4 separate regions of the Homo sapiens genome follow, and all the other regions are linked to region 2. The links are contacts of gene promoters, found by promoter capture Hi-C in human tissues and cell types (Jung and others, 2019). All regions are on one chromosome and are shown on one strand. Each heading gives the region's core, a stretch centred on a gene start or on the middle of the fragment in contact. The rest is flanking DNA. Distances are from core to core; before and after follow the strand shown.

Region 1 (3,170 bases), core at 246-2,745, 180 kb before region 2:
ACCATTAATGACCTCCTCACTATGAACAGCAGCCAAGTATCTCCTAGTAACTAAAATATGTAAAGGGTTTAATGTTATTTTTGAATAGTGGTTACATGCACATAGTGTAAAATTCAAAGAGCACCAAACATTATACATTCAGAGGAACTCTCCTCCTCTTCTCAGCTCCTGTGCCCCATTTCCCTCCTCAGAGGCAACCTCTGCTGTCGATTTCTTGGGTGTGCTTCGAGAGGTACTCTGCTGTTTTCCATGAGTGGTAGCATTGCAAACACGACTACTGTGCAGCACCTTTTTAAAAAAAAAAACATATTTATTGAGGCATAATTTGCACACTATACAATTCACCCATTTTTAAGTGAATATCCAATGGTTGTGTAAGCTTACAGAGTCATGTGACCATTTCCAAAGTCCAATTTTAAAACATTTATACTATTCCAAAAAGATCCCTGGTGACCATTTGCAATCATTCCCTGTTCTCACTCCAGCCCCAGGAAACCACTAATGTATTTTCCATCTTTATAGATTGGCTTTCTGGGGTCTGTTGTGACTGGCTTCTTTCACTTAGCCTAATGTTTTTAAGAAACACCAATGTTGTAGCATATACTGCTACTTCATTTCTTCTTATTACTGAGTACTATGAATGTCAGAGGACTACATAATGTGGAAGTTGGCAAATTTCCTCTTTTTGACTTATGCATGGTATGTTAGCAATCCATGTTTGCAACAGTTTCCCACCCTTGGAGCTTTATCCTCTAATAACTTCTCAAAGTATTTCTTCCTAACACAAATAATGGTTTCCCTAAGACGTATTTTGATGAATAGTCTCTTTAGTCCTCTTCTTGATATATTAGTATGAGAGAGCTCTTAGGAAGCACATGAGAGGGGAAGGACTGAATAAAGAAGTTGAGAGAAAGTCAAATATAATTGCAGCCCATGCAGAGGTGTCCGTTCTAACATTGCTTTCTAACAGCCATTCCAACATGCCTAGATATATATATATTCCATTTAGTCCTACCAGACCTCCATTCATTCAGATACAAGAACACTTTATAATTGAGCAAGTTAATGTTTATGTAATAAAATATTGATTAGAAAGAGCAAGTGTCTTTAAAGTTGAACATCTCTGGGCTCAAATCCCAGCTTCATCATGTCCTAATTGAGTAAATCTCTGCTAAGTGGCAATGAGCAGTAACACACATGCCATTGTGTAAGGATCAAAAGATGAAATATACAAAACACCTAGAGCAGTGTTTGGCACTAAGTAGGGACTCAGTAAGTAGTAATTGTTATTTTCACATCTCTAGAAAGAAGAAATAACTATCTTTGTCTGCTGGCAACGTTTCATCTTTTTCCACCACTAATGAATAGATATATTCCAAGGTAATCATTAAATAAATTCTCAGTCTTCATAGATAAAATGACTGTACGAATTTTATTCTGTCAATGTAATAAAATAATTAAGTCATTGTTTTTAAAGGCTTTGACAGTTGCAATGTAAGAGCGAAGAAGCCATTCTCAGCATCAACCACCATCAAAAAGTGCAAGATAATTAATTCAGAGGTTGTGGTTTAATAGAATCTATTATAAAATAACATCTAACAATGGAATTAAAATTGTTTTTATATAACACTGTATTCTTTGACATTCACAACTGACCCTTGAGATAAGTAGACTTCCTGTGATTACCCCTAGCACGGGTGAGGAAACGAGGCTCACACATGTGAACAACCCTGAATCCTGGGCTTTCCCCTCTATGTTGTAAAAATTTGATTAAATAAAATAATGAATTTAAAAAAGCTTCTTAAGCCATAAAATGTTGTGAAAATATAAGTAGCTATTGTGATTGTTCTTATCTTGGAGTAGACAATCTAATAAATTCTAGAACTCAAAAGTTTATCTTTTATAGTTAAAACCAAAGCATTTAATTCTACTACCAAAATCTCCAGAAGGTTGAGCTCTTCTCAGACGACCTTAATCTTGGTTCTTATTGTAAACTAAGGATCTGCATTTCCTCTAGGTCTGTGAAATTAGGTGAGGGTTAGAAGAGACACAGTCTTCAAGGCCTTCTAAATGTCTTGAGGCAGCGGGTTACCCAGGACTAGGTCGCTGATAGGAATCAGCTAAAAGCTTTGCAAACAGAAAACCCATATAACCCATTATAAACTTTGGTTGCAAATACAGAATTAGATACTGGAATCATGTGGATCACAAGGTGCCTTCATCTAATGCCTCCTACTCAGAATGGAATTTAAGGACCTTACAATTTTTATTATTACAATAAATATGACCTTACAATTATGATGCCACTCCCCTATTGTACTACTTTCAGCTATGTGTTAGACACATCTTCCTACACATTCATAGCCCTTCCACTATTCAGATTGACCCAGTGTCTCTATCTCCAGGGTTACTGTCACCAGTTACTATTCAGCATGAAAGGATTTGAGTGCAATTTGCATGTCTCTTTCACATTGTTGTTTTAGTAAACTATTGTAAGTCTACTCTTTCTATAGAATTCCTGGAAATTATACAATGTCTGTTTCCCCTTTAGCTAAAAGTGTACTCATTTCATTTATGGAAAAAATCTAGATTATTTTTGTGGGGGTTTAACCAGCTTTGCATTTCACAAGATAAAATACAATCTCAGGGGAATACATTAATGTATAGATACTTAATAAAAATATCTGGTATCTTTCCATCAATAGGCACTCCAAATAATTCTCAATATATTTTTACAGACAAAATTGAAGTATTCAATTTCAAAAAACTTATGAAACCAACCTAAAGACATAAAAGCTCAACATTGATAGATGTCTATCAAATTAGTCTTAGCTTCAAAAACATAAAAGGAGCTACCTCTATGGTTTTAAAAGCACTTTTTTCCCCTCTTCCATCATGTTATAGAGGGTGGATGATGGAAGTTTTCCTGACTTGCTGACTGAACTATTTCGCTATCTTCTGACTAAACTTTTTCCACCCTCACACCCATTGCAATGTCCAAGAGCAAAACAGGGGCTGTTGCTTCCTGCTTTTTCTCTTCTTATGTCTGAGACACAGAGTATAAGTGGAGGAATGCAAGTCATCAGAGTAAAAGACAGCCAAGTGTCATCATATATAAGTTTAGAATCTACCTGTGATGTTCAATGGGAACAAGGTTTTCCAACTTTTAC
Region 2 (3,172 bases), core at 141-2,640:
CAGCCCACAGCCGCCCAGCGCCTCCGGGTAGAGCGCAACCGCTGCGGGGAGCGCGGCTCCTACCGGCGCCGGCGGGGCGCACAGCCCAGCGGTTGCCTGGGCTCTGCAGTTTGCAGCTCCGGGGTGCCCGGGCACAGGCGACCGTGGAGAGGAGAGGCCAGGATGTGGGAGCACCGCACGGCACAGCCATTAACTGGCGCGGCTCTGGACTGGTAAATGATTAATAGGCACCACCAGCGCGTCAGCAGCTACGAAAAAAGGGGGTGGGGTGGAGAAAGGGAGGAGAGCACATAGGTGGCTTGTCCCCCCCGCCCCCCATTTTTTTCCTTCCCAGTCCTGCACTCTGCTCAACTTTAGTGGCTCCTTCCGGGGTTCCCTCGCAGCACCATCTGCCTCTTGCTCTCAGAGGAACCAAGAGAGTTCCTCGGCCTTACTGGAGGGCGGGTGGGAACCAAAGGTATAGATTCTGTCTCATTCCACTCCTCTCCTACCCAAAGCAAAGACTCAAACGGATCCATGAACATGGATGTCTGGAGTTCATCTCAGTTTCCCTCCATTGCTGCCCTTTTCTCTGGAGACCCCAGCTTCTCTCCCGTCCCGCAGTCCAGAACCCTAAATTCCCTCTTCCCACCCTCGCTTGCCTTGCAGCTCAGACCCGCCAGGGAAGTTCCGGGCCCTCCTTACCCAAAGTGCGCAACCTCCAGACTGAGACGTAGATGGTCGGTGCAAAGTGCATGTGCGGTCTGTTAGCAGGTTGACGATCTTCGCGCAGACCAACTCCCTTCTTTGCGCCTGGCCCCAGCACAGGTGCCCACGCAATTACTCTTAGAATCGCGGAAACTGGCCCTAAGCTGCGAGCGTTATGAGAAGAAAGGACAACCACCGTGCGTTAGGGGCTTCTGCGCTATAACACAGCAGGCAGCTTAGGCTATTGGGAGTGTTCAGGGACCTGAGTGAACCATTCGCAAATCTCTTAATAAAGCTCGTAGCGCTCAGAGCCCCCCGTGTCTCCCACAGGAATATCGACTGCAGAAACGAGGACGCGCAGCTGGGAGCTCTGGAGGAGCTTGAGACTCCCTCCAGAAACGTGCCAGGCGCGGTGTTGGGAATCCACCTAGGTGTTCACTCGGGAAAGATAAGGCTGCGCCGCTTGGAAGGGCTCCACCCGCGTCCCTGCTGTACTTTGTACCCTGGAGAGTTGGCGGGTTCTGGCAGACGAGAGTTTAAAGGCTTGGGCGGGCGGGGACGCCAGCTCTTCTAAATCCAGGTGAGGAGCTGCCGCCGTGCGATGACCAGACCTGTCACCAACCCCAGGAACGGCAGGGCGACATTCGAGTTTTTCCGGGAAGAGCTAGGATGTCAGCTCTTTCTGAGGCTTGATTTGTGAGCTGGCTCTGGGTCACGTGCCCAAACCATTAGGAGATATCAATGTAGGCAAGCCTGAAGCTCACTGACTTCATTTAAGAATCAAAACGGTTTTCCCGTAAGAAAGAATGTATGTTCCGTTATCAGGATTTTAAACGAACCCTGGGACTTACCACCATTCTTACTCTAGGGTCTCTTTGGCTTTCCAACTGTTCCTGTGGAAGGAAGAATCACACTCCATGCAACTTCCCTGTTCCTTTTCATAAACGTTGCTTTGCTCGGTAAGATCCCTGCAAGCCTTTATTTGAAACTAGCCTGTTCACAGGAAGAGTGACCCGCAGCAGCTTAGTGCTCTGCCTCCTTCAAGCTTTGCTGTCTCCAGTTTTTCCTTAGTTTCTCCTTCTCCTCAACCAGGCTGTGCCCGCTGTACTGTAAGTCTCAGTTTTCCTCCTCTCAGTAGAGTTTACTCCAAGGAGAGGCTAAACTCCTCATGGAGGCTATCTGTACCGGTCCAGAATGAAGAAATGGATGCAGAAATTAAAAACAAAAAAGTATATTTCCTAATGCCCTGTTGCTTTATCCAGGTAATCACTTACATATACTGCATGTGTTTTAGTTCCCAAAACTAATTGTCTTGAACAGGAAAGAATAACTTCTGTAGTGTGTTGATGATAGCAATCAAAGACTAAAATAAATGACAGACTTTCATAGGAATGTGTGCAATTATTAATGAGGAATGTGCTAGGATGGAATTTGAAATTTCATACGGCTGAAACTGTTTTAACCCATTATTTTACCTGAACAAATTGCCTTCTTTAAAGTGGAATGTACAATTGGTGTTTAGTTATATTTATTTTTCCTTTACAAATACAGCACATATGGAGAGAAAATAAATGTTCATTAAGTTAAAAGAAAAGAGAGTGGGTATTGTCCCAGAATCCCAGAAGAGCATTTTACTAGCCAAGCCTCATATAATGCCTTAGATGCCTCTGCCAATCACTGACTAAAGACACCTGACTATCTGTACCTCTGGGAGCTTGGATTTCAACAGTCATTATTTAGATGCCTTGGCTTTGATCATGGTTGCTCTTTGGGAAGTGTGTGATGGGAGTCAGTGAAAAACAGCTCTGTTGTTCAGAATTTCATTAAATTCACTTTCAGCTCATCTTAGGGAAAATTTCTCTCAATTTTGTGGCCTCATATACAAAAGAAGAAAACTTAAGACCTGACGTGAGAATGCTTTTTATTTTTATTTTTTTGAGATGCCACTTTTCACCCACTAGGATGGCTATAAGAACATTTTTAAAAACAAAAAATAAACGTTAGTGAGAATGTGGAGAAATTAGAACACTCATACATTGCTGGTGGGAATAAAAAATGATGCAGCAACTTCAGAAAAAAATTTTGGCAATTGCTTAAAAAGTTTAAAAGTTTAAAAGAATGACCATATGAGCCAGCAATTCCACTTCTATTTACTCCTCAAAATTGAAAACAGGTGTTTAATCAAAAACTTGTGCATGAACATTCATAGCAGCACTATTCATAATAGCCAAAAATTAGAAACAATCCAAATATCCATCAATTGCTGAATTAATAAATTGTGGTATATCCATACAATGGAATAGTATTCAACCATAAAAAGAAATGAAGTACTAATACCTGCTTCAGCGTAGACGAAGCTTGAAAACACTATGCAAAGGGAAAGAAGCCAGACACAAAAGGCCACGTGTGGCATGATTCCATTTATATGACATGCCCAGGGCAGGCAATACATACAGACAAGGTACGTTAGTGGTTGCCAGGGGCT
Region 3 (3,506 bases), core at 312-2,811, 160 kb before region 2:
TCAGTGGGAGGACTGAGAAGCAAGGAGGTTGATTGTCTTGTTCAAGGGCTTGGGAAATTCCTAGCTTGGATCTCTTCATTTGGCCTCTCTCCACAGGACCTTTGCTGTCTGTTGGTAGAGGGGTCTTTTGAGTTTTCTTTCCTTGTAAAGGGAAGGTTCTGCTGCCCATAAAACCTTCAGCTAACTTTGTGGATCCGCTAAGAATCATGTTCAGCTGCATATAACAACATGTCAGATATATCAATGGCTTAAACTTATGAAGATATATTTTATTCCACATAAAATAAGTTTGGAGATGTGCAGTCTGGGGAAGATATGGTGACCCCATGATCATCAGGGACTCATCCTCCATCTCTATTTCTGCTCTTCCATTCTTATTTGACTTCCATCTGCTCTTCCATTCTTATTATTTGGCTTCCATCTGCAGGATCACCACAATAGTCCAAAATGGTGTTTGGAGCCTCATCTATCATATCTGCATTCTAGGAGGTAGGGTGTGGAAAAGGAAGGGGCAAAGTGACACATGCCAGCTGTCTGTCTTCTCATTCTAATAGCTTTTGTTTACTTCTCACTGGTCATAGCTCAGTGAAGTGGCCACTTTAATCTCAAGATAAGCTGGGAAATGCATTATTTTAGCTAGGCACATTGCCACCCTAAATAAAATTGGAGCTCTCTTACTAATAAAGAAAGGGTAAATGAATGTTGAAGCAGCAATGAGAAATCTATGCCATACCTTCCTGGACTTTTTCTCTAGCGGATATCTTAGAATGTTCCCATCATTAGGGGGCATCCTAAACTGTTGGGGAAGTTCTTTCTGAGTCATCTCCTTTTCCTGTTAGATCTCCCCATCCCCCTAAACAATGTCAATCTGAACCTCTGTCTAGTTCTAGTATCCACCCACTATGAGCTGACTCCTTTTATCCTCTCTTGGCAGAGGTTTTGCTGTAGCACATATCGGCACCAGCAATAGTAAAATGCATACCCCAAATATGCTCCATTTACTGTCTTTTTAAAAATGCTTTTCACGTCATTACCGAACCCTAAGTAGGAGGAAGACACTCCTTAGTCAGTGGTAAGGCAATCTCTGCTCCTCTTCAAAAGGTTGTCTGTAGAATGATGATAATAACAGTCTCAACCAGTAAGATGTTTTATGATGATGATATAAGTTAAAATAATGTGGAAAGCACTTAGGACACTGTTTTGGAACAAAATAAGTCCCCTATGAATGTCTGTTATTGTTATTATTCATTAATATTATGATTGTTATTATTATCAACACATGGCTTTTTTTATACTGAGGAATATTTAATGATCATCTAGGAAAAAGATATTCTTGTCTCCTAAACAAAAATTCCTCCCAGGAGAATTATTAATGGGCCTGTAAGGCAAGGGAGAGGCATTATGTTCAGGAAGCCACTGCAAGAACAGCTATATAATACCATACAAGCTTTACCAAGTCACCTAGTTGGTAAAGTGGTACTTTACAGTGTGAGTGTTGGGAGACATGCTTCCTGTAAGAGAAGCTTCTCATCTCCAGGAGGCCTTCTGAGCCAAGGATGGTGATGAGGTGGCAAGGAAGATACTTAGAGAAGAGCCAACACACCAAACCAGAGGGAAACATGCTAAACTGTCTCCTTCACAAGTTTTCATAGACTTGTATCTGGTAAGCTGGGTTCCAGGTGTTTTTGGATGAAATTCCTACTGATTGAGTTTCCTAACTACATTCCAATAATCCACATATGCTTTTGATGAGCTGCATGGAAATTTAATGTTGTTCTAAATTAAGTGGAGAGGAGAACAGGAATGTGTTAATTATACATAACAGTGAACCAAGTGTAAAAACTGAAGTCTGTAAATTTATTCTTTGAAGCATATTTCTTGCTTAAAAAAAAAGAAACTAAAAAAATGATGAGACCGTTTAGTGCCTGAAAAATGTGGGGCACTGGGACATGCTATACTTTGAGTTGTTCTTTGAATACTGTGAACTTAGTCGTTATTGAGAGGCTGATGTGCCCTCAAGAGTGATTGTAATTAAAGCCTGATTTGAGAGTCTTTTTTATTTCTGATATGGTTCTAAGAGTGTGTGAGAAAGTTCTGAGGACTGACATTTGGAAAGAAGCAGAGAGTGACTTTTGTATCCTGAGTAAATCACTTCCAATGAAGAGACAGAATTAGAGACAAGAACAGAACAAAAGGTTTAGGGGAAAGGAGGATCTTAGGTGAAAAGGAAACATATAATTCTATCAAAATGGTTTATACTGACATGCTACAAAGGCACATTCAACTAGCAATCACTTTTGAAATAGTCAGGAGAGAGAAATGTGGACACTTACATGAACTGAAAATTCCATTCAAGCACCTCTTTGGATCTTCTTTATCTATACTTTGCTTGGAAGTGAACAAAAATAGATCTTTGAGTATGATTTTTCATTTTCCATTGTCAGAGCACAGGATGTCTCACATGAGGGATAGTAACGCTAAGCACTTTCTAGTTGAGGAGAAAGGCGACAAAGATTATCAAGGAAGATCTCCAAAGAACATGGAATTGGAATTCAGGAAAATAGCTTCCTTCCCTCTAACTCTGTGGCCAAGTTTCTCTCCTGCTTTCTCAAAGATGATTCAGGTTCCTAAATGTAAAATGAAAATCATTCATTCCACCTATCTCATCTATTTAAGTTAAATAAAGCTTCAATATATAGTAGCTGTATAGCAGCTTAGAATGTCCAATAAAAAATAGTCTGCTCAATTTGCAAATTTGCACCAGAGTCTGGAAGATAGGAATATACATATAGATATATAAATATAGTACACTTAAAGTCCGGTGGTAATTGATGATCATTTCCTAGTTAGTAACCAAGACTTACCTAATCAGCAAGGATAGTTTAGGGAGTCGGGGTGGAGAGTTAAGGAGCAGCTCTCTACCCTGCAAGCGGGGAAAGACTTGAAAGATGCAGATGCTATCAACAAACTGTATTTGGATACTGAAACACAGTTGAAGATATTGAGAAGAGAACCCTTTCCAAATTGAGGGGAGCACTCCTTGAGGGGAGAAGCATACAAGATTGCTGGTCTGCAATCTTACTGGGAATGAGGGAGAACACTTAGATGAATCCACGAAACAAACTTTGATAAAAGGAGCAAATATCATAGGAGGGGAAGGAGGGAGTTGTGGTAGGTCCCTGATGACTTATATGGATAAAGAACTGGAAAACTACCCTGAAATAACACTTAGACTATCTGCTACCTACATACCAGCTATAGAGCCTGGGTAATATTAAAAACAAAGGGTATTTGAGATAAAAATCCAGGACAATGTGATTTTGTGGTTATGGCTGAGATTTTTTTTTTTTTTTTTTTTTTGAGACGGAGTCTCGCTCTGTCGCCCAGGCCGGACTGCGGACTGCAGTGGCGCAATCTCGGCTCACTGCAAGCTCCGCTTCCCGGGTTCACGCCATTCTCCTGCCTCAGCCTCCCGAGTAGCTGGGACTACAGGCACCCGCCACCGC
Region 4 (3,622 bases), core at 160-2,659, 230 kb before region 2:
TCCCTTCACTTAAGTAATATCAGGTCAGCTTTAGTGCTTGCTTTGGTGTCCCCAGAAAGTCCCATTACGTAGGTAAGGAACCTTTTAATACTCTCTTGTAGCACATGTGTCATCCTCAGTCTTGATAATCTGAACCTATTTTAGGTGGGAGGTCGATCTCATTCTCTTCAGGGCAACTACAAAATAATTGGCACTAGGAGACCTGGGGGTCTTTCTTGTTTTTGGCTTGCTACCTGGTTCTCCTGCCTGCTGGTGACAGTGTACATTGAGCTTTTGCCTCCTGGCTAGTTTGTGTTTTGAATTGCTTTACTGCCTACCAGTAAGCTTGCATTTTGAATTGTGTTGTGCTGTGATGCATTTGCTGAATCCTACTAAGTTTCTGGTATAGATTTAACTAATTATGTTGAAAATTTTGACAGGATATTTAGGGTAGGAGTGTGGCATTCGAATTCCTTCTAAAAGTGGGCCTGGGTCATATGTTTGGCTTAGATCTATCCATGTATTTCAATTTCAGCATAAGTCATAGCTTACTCTGGACACGTGAAACAACTTTTACCCAATGACCATTGGCTGAATTTCTCAAGCAGGTGTTGAGCCCCTGTGCAGTATATAGACCCATTAGTTGTGTGCTAGTGTGAGGAAGAGTAGTCACTATGTTGTGTTCTGAGGTCCACATGCTTAAGTTCAGAGAGCTCACTGAGACTCTATAAACCTTAAGATGGCTCTGCTGCTGCTGCTGCTGCTGCTGCTGCTGCTGTTGCCACTCATGCCTCTGTTGCTACAAAGACCCTGGTCCTCAGGATTATACAGAAAAAACTCCCATGGTACCTCCTATGGCATAGACTCTTATGAAAAGCAACCCTAACTGCTCTACACTCAACCCCATTATAGGTCCAGAGGGCACTGTTACGCTATTAAATAACCATAAAAGGAACGGGCAAAGATTGTGGGGTCTATTGAGTATTGCAGCTTATCAACATATCAAGTGGTTAATTCATACCCAGCTTAATTCCGGAGTCCCTAAACCATCATAACAACATTCACCATGTGGGAGGTCCCTACCCCACGATACTAATTTAGCACTCTCTGAAGGATGAGACTTACAAAAATGAGCAGAATGGAGAAAACTCCCCTTTCCCCCTCTCCATGTAGTATATCCAGTAACTTTAAACATAAAATAAAACAACAACAACAAAAACACTTTATACAATGGGAAGAAATAGGCACTGAAACAGGGATCTGTGATTTGGTCCAACTGGAAATCAAAATTCACTAAAATAATTTGTGGAAAAGAAAGATAAAAATGACTATTGATTATTGTGTTTCTACAAAATAGGTACTAAATTAATGTCTGCTGAGATGTGCCAATTGGAAAACATTTATGGCCTAATTAATGGGGCTCAAATTACAGTTGTACCTGGGAATGCCACAAAATATAAACCAGGTACCCCCTATACTCTTAGTGGAGTTACTGACCATAAAATAGAGGACAAATAAATATACCCAACCTTAGCCTTGAAAATGTTGCGTATATTCCCCACAATCACAGTGTTCCGTGCCCAATGTCCCATAGTGGGCATAAACATTTTGACCTAGTAAATAATAGAGTAGAATTAAACCTCTGACACTTAAGATTAGCTTGATAAAATGGGGCTCCATGGACTCATTCACCCTAAATCCTATACCAGGTTAAATAGTACAGATCAATATAGATTTAAACAAGTTCTGCAAAAATTAAGGTCATATAAGACCAGCTGAAGGAAGGGGCCACTGTTCCTATATCCTGATGTTTGCTAATGGTCAAACCTAATAAAAATAAGTGGTGCCTAACAGTGAGGCTTGGTGCCTCTAGCATCTCAGATTAATGAAATAAAAATGGATGATGTAATAGGGGGAAACGTTAGATCTCTACCTCACATTCTACCAAAATAAATTCCAAATGAAGCAAGGAATCAGCTATGAGAATAAAATAATAAAAGTTATGAATGTTTATGTACATAGAAATTTATAGTCTTGCATTGAGGAGGGACTTTTTTAGAATAACACTACACCAGAAGCCATAAAGGAGCGAAATTCTGGATTTGTATACATAAATATTTAAAATTTCCTTATAAAATAATAAAGTCTGACTAGAATTAAAAGAAAAACAGTAAATAAACAGGACATTTGCAGCATATATGACAAGGAATTAATATCTGTTACTTAGAAAGCTTCTTTAAAAAGTATATAAATATAGCCTGTAATCTCAGCACTTTGGGAGGCCGAGGCGGGTGGATCACGAGGTCAGGAGATGGAGACCATCCTGGCTAACACGGCGAAACCCCGTCTCTACTAAAAAAATACAAAAAAATTAGCCTGGCGTGGTGGCGGGCGCCTGTAGTCCCAGCTACTCAGGAGGCTGAGGCAGGAGAATGGCGTGAACCCGGGAGGCGGAGCTTGCCGTGAGCCAAGATCTCACCACTGCACTCCAGCCTGGGCGACAGAGCGAGACTACGTCTCAAAAAAAAAAAAACAAACAACAACTCAAAGTATATACATATAAATACACAAAAGGATGAAAAGGCAACTCAGTGAAAAAAATAAAAATAATCATTAAGAATATGACAATATCTATATTTAACTAATAAATATAGAAATTAAAACAATGTGATAGTATTTTGTGTCAAATTGGTAAATAAAGAAAATTAAGAACAAGTAGCTTTGGCTTTCCTCGATGCAGACAGATGGGGACTTTGATATGCTGCTGGTGGCAATATAAATTTATGTGCCCTTTTTAATGCCCGTGGACAAGTCAAGGTTCCGCAGCGAAATAGAACCAATAGGATGGATATGTATTTAGAAAGATGTGTTGGTGGGCCAGGTGGCTTATGCCTGTAATCCCAGCATTTTGGGAGGCGGAGACAGGAGAATGACTTGGGCTCAGGGGTGGGAAACCAGACTAGGCAACATAGTGAGACCCTGTCTCTACAAAAAAGAAAAAAAATTAGCCAGGCTTGGTGGCACATATGTGTAGTCCCAGCTACTTGAGAGGCTGAGGTGGGAGGATCTCTCCAGCCTAAGAGTTTGAGGATGCAGTGAGCTCTGACTGCACCACTGCACTCCAGCCTGGGCAAGAGAGTGAGTCTCCATCTCAAGAAAAAAGGAAGGAAAGGGAAAGGAAAAGGGAAAGGGAAGGGGAAAGGATTCTAAAAACGTGTGCAACGTTTGAGCTACCAAATCTATTTGTAAGAATTTATTTTAAGGAAATTACTAAGAATAATGCAAATATTTAGTTACTTGACAATGCATTACACCACTGTTTACAATAAAAAATTAAGAAAATAGCAAAAACAATGTTTAAAATTGTGTGCAATATGATGCAATTTTTATTTTAAAAATACATATATATGAAAATGTCCAGAAGCTGTTAATATTGTTCATCTCTGCTTGAAAGAATTGTAAGTGATTTTTTTTTGTTTATATATGTTTTTTGATTATTATTCAACACATATGAACTAGATGTGCAATAAAATATTTTTAAAAATTGTCACATTTTGATGTATTGTTTTGCTACTTTGTATCTATATCTATCCAACAAATTGGGTAAATATCATGTTTGTATACTGCTTTGTTCCTGTTAATA

Evidence for each region. Contacts are between HindIII fragments. The study calls those that stand out against the background at their distance.
Region 1: a contact is called between a fragment that was not itself captured here and the fragment with the promoter of SSTR1 in region 2, in 3 of the 25 tissues and cell types used here (dorsolateral prefrontal cortex, mesenchymal stem cells and mesendoderm cells).
Region 3: a contact is called between a fragment that was not itself captured here and the fragment with the promoter of SSTR1 in region 2, in 2 of the 25 tissues and cell types used here (bladder and stomach).
Region 4: a contact is called between a fragment that was not itself captured here and the fragment with the promoter of SSTR1 in region 2, in 4 of the 25 tissues and cell types used here (H1 embryonic stem cells, hippocampus, mesenchymal stem cells and 1 more).

The regions. Positions count from the first base shown.
Region 1 is chr14:38,382,479-38,385,648 of GRCh38, reverse strand. It overlaps LOC124903304 (a long non-coding RNA gene), which reads right to left. Exons shown (of 3, transcript XR_007064118.1): 3 at 1-288. Among named protein-coding and RNA genes, the nearest start is that of CLEC14A, 130 kb to the right of the region's middle. The HindIII fragment of the contact is 3,104 bases long and covers 1-3,047 here.
Region 2 is chr14:38,206,122-38,209,293 of GRCh38, reverse strand. SSTR1 (somatostatin receptor 1) reads right to left here and starts at 1,390. Exons shown (of 3, transcript NM_001049.3): 1 at 1,190-1,390; 2 at 685-851; 3 at 1-248. It overlaps LOC124903303 (a long non-coding RNA gene), which reads left to right and starts at 7. Exons shown (of 2, transcript XR_007064117.1): 1 at 7-212; 2 at 1,018-2,079. RefSeq lists an enhancer at 927-1,588. The HindIII fragment of the contact is 11,122 bases long and covers 1-2,388 here.
Region 3 is chr14:38,363,899-38,367,404 of GRCh38, reverse strand. No RefSeq gene overlaps it. Among named protein-coding and RNA genes, the nearest start is that of CLEC14A, 110 kb to the right of the region's middle. The HindIII fragment of the contact is 3,278 bases long and covers 1-3,200 here.
Region 4 is chr14:38,438,647-38,442,268 of GRCh38, reverse strand. No RefSeq gene overlaps it. Among named protein-coding and RNA genes, the nearest start is that of CLEC14A, 180 kb to the right of the region's middle. The HindIII fragment of the contact is 5,114 bases long and covers 1-3,622 here.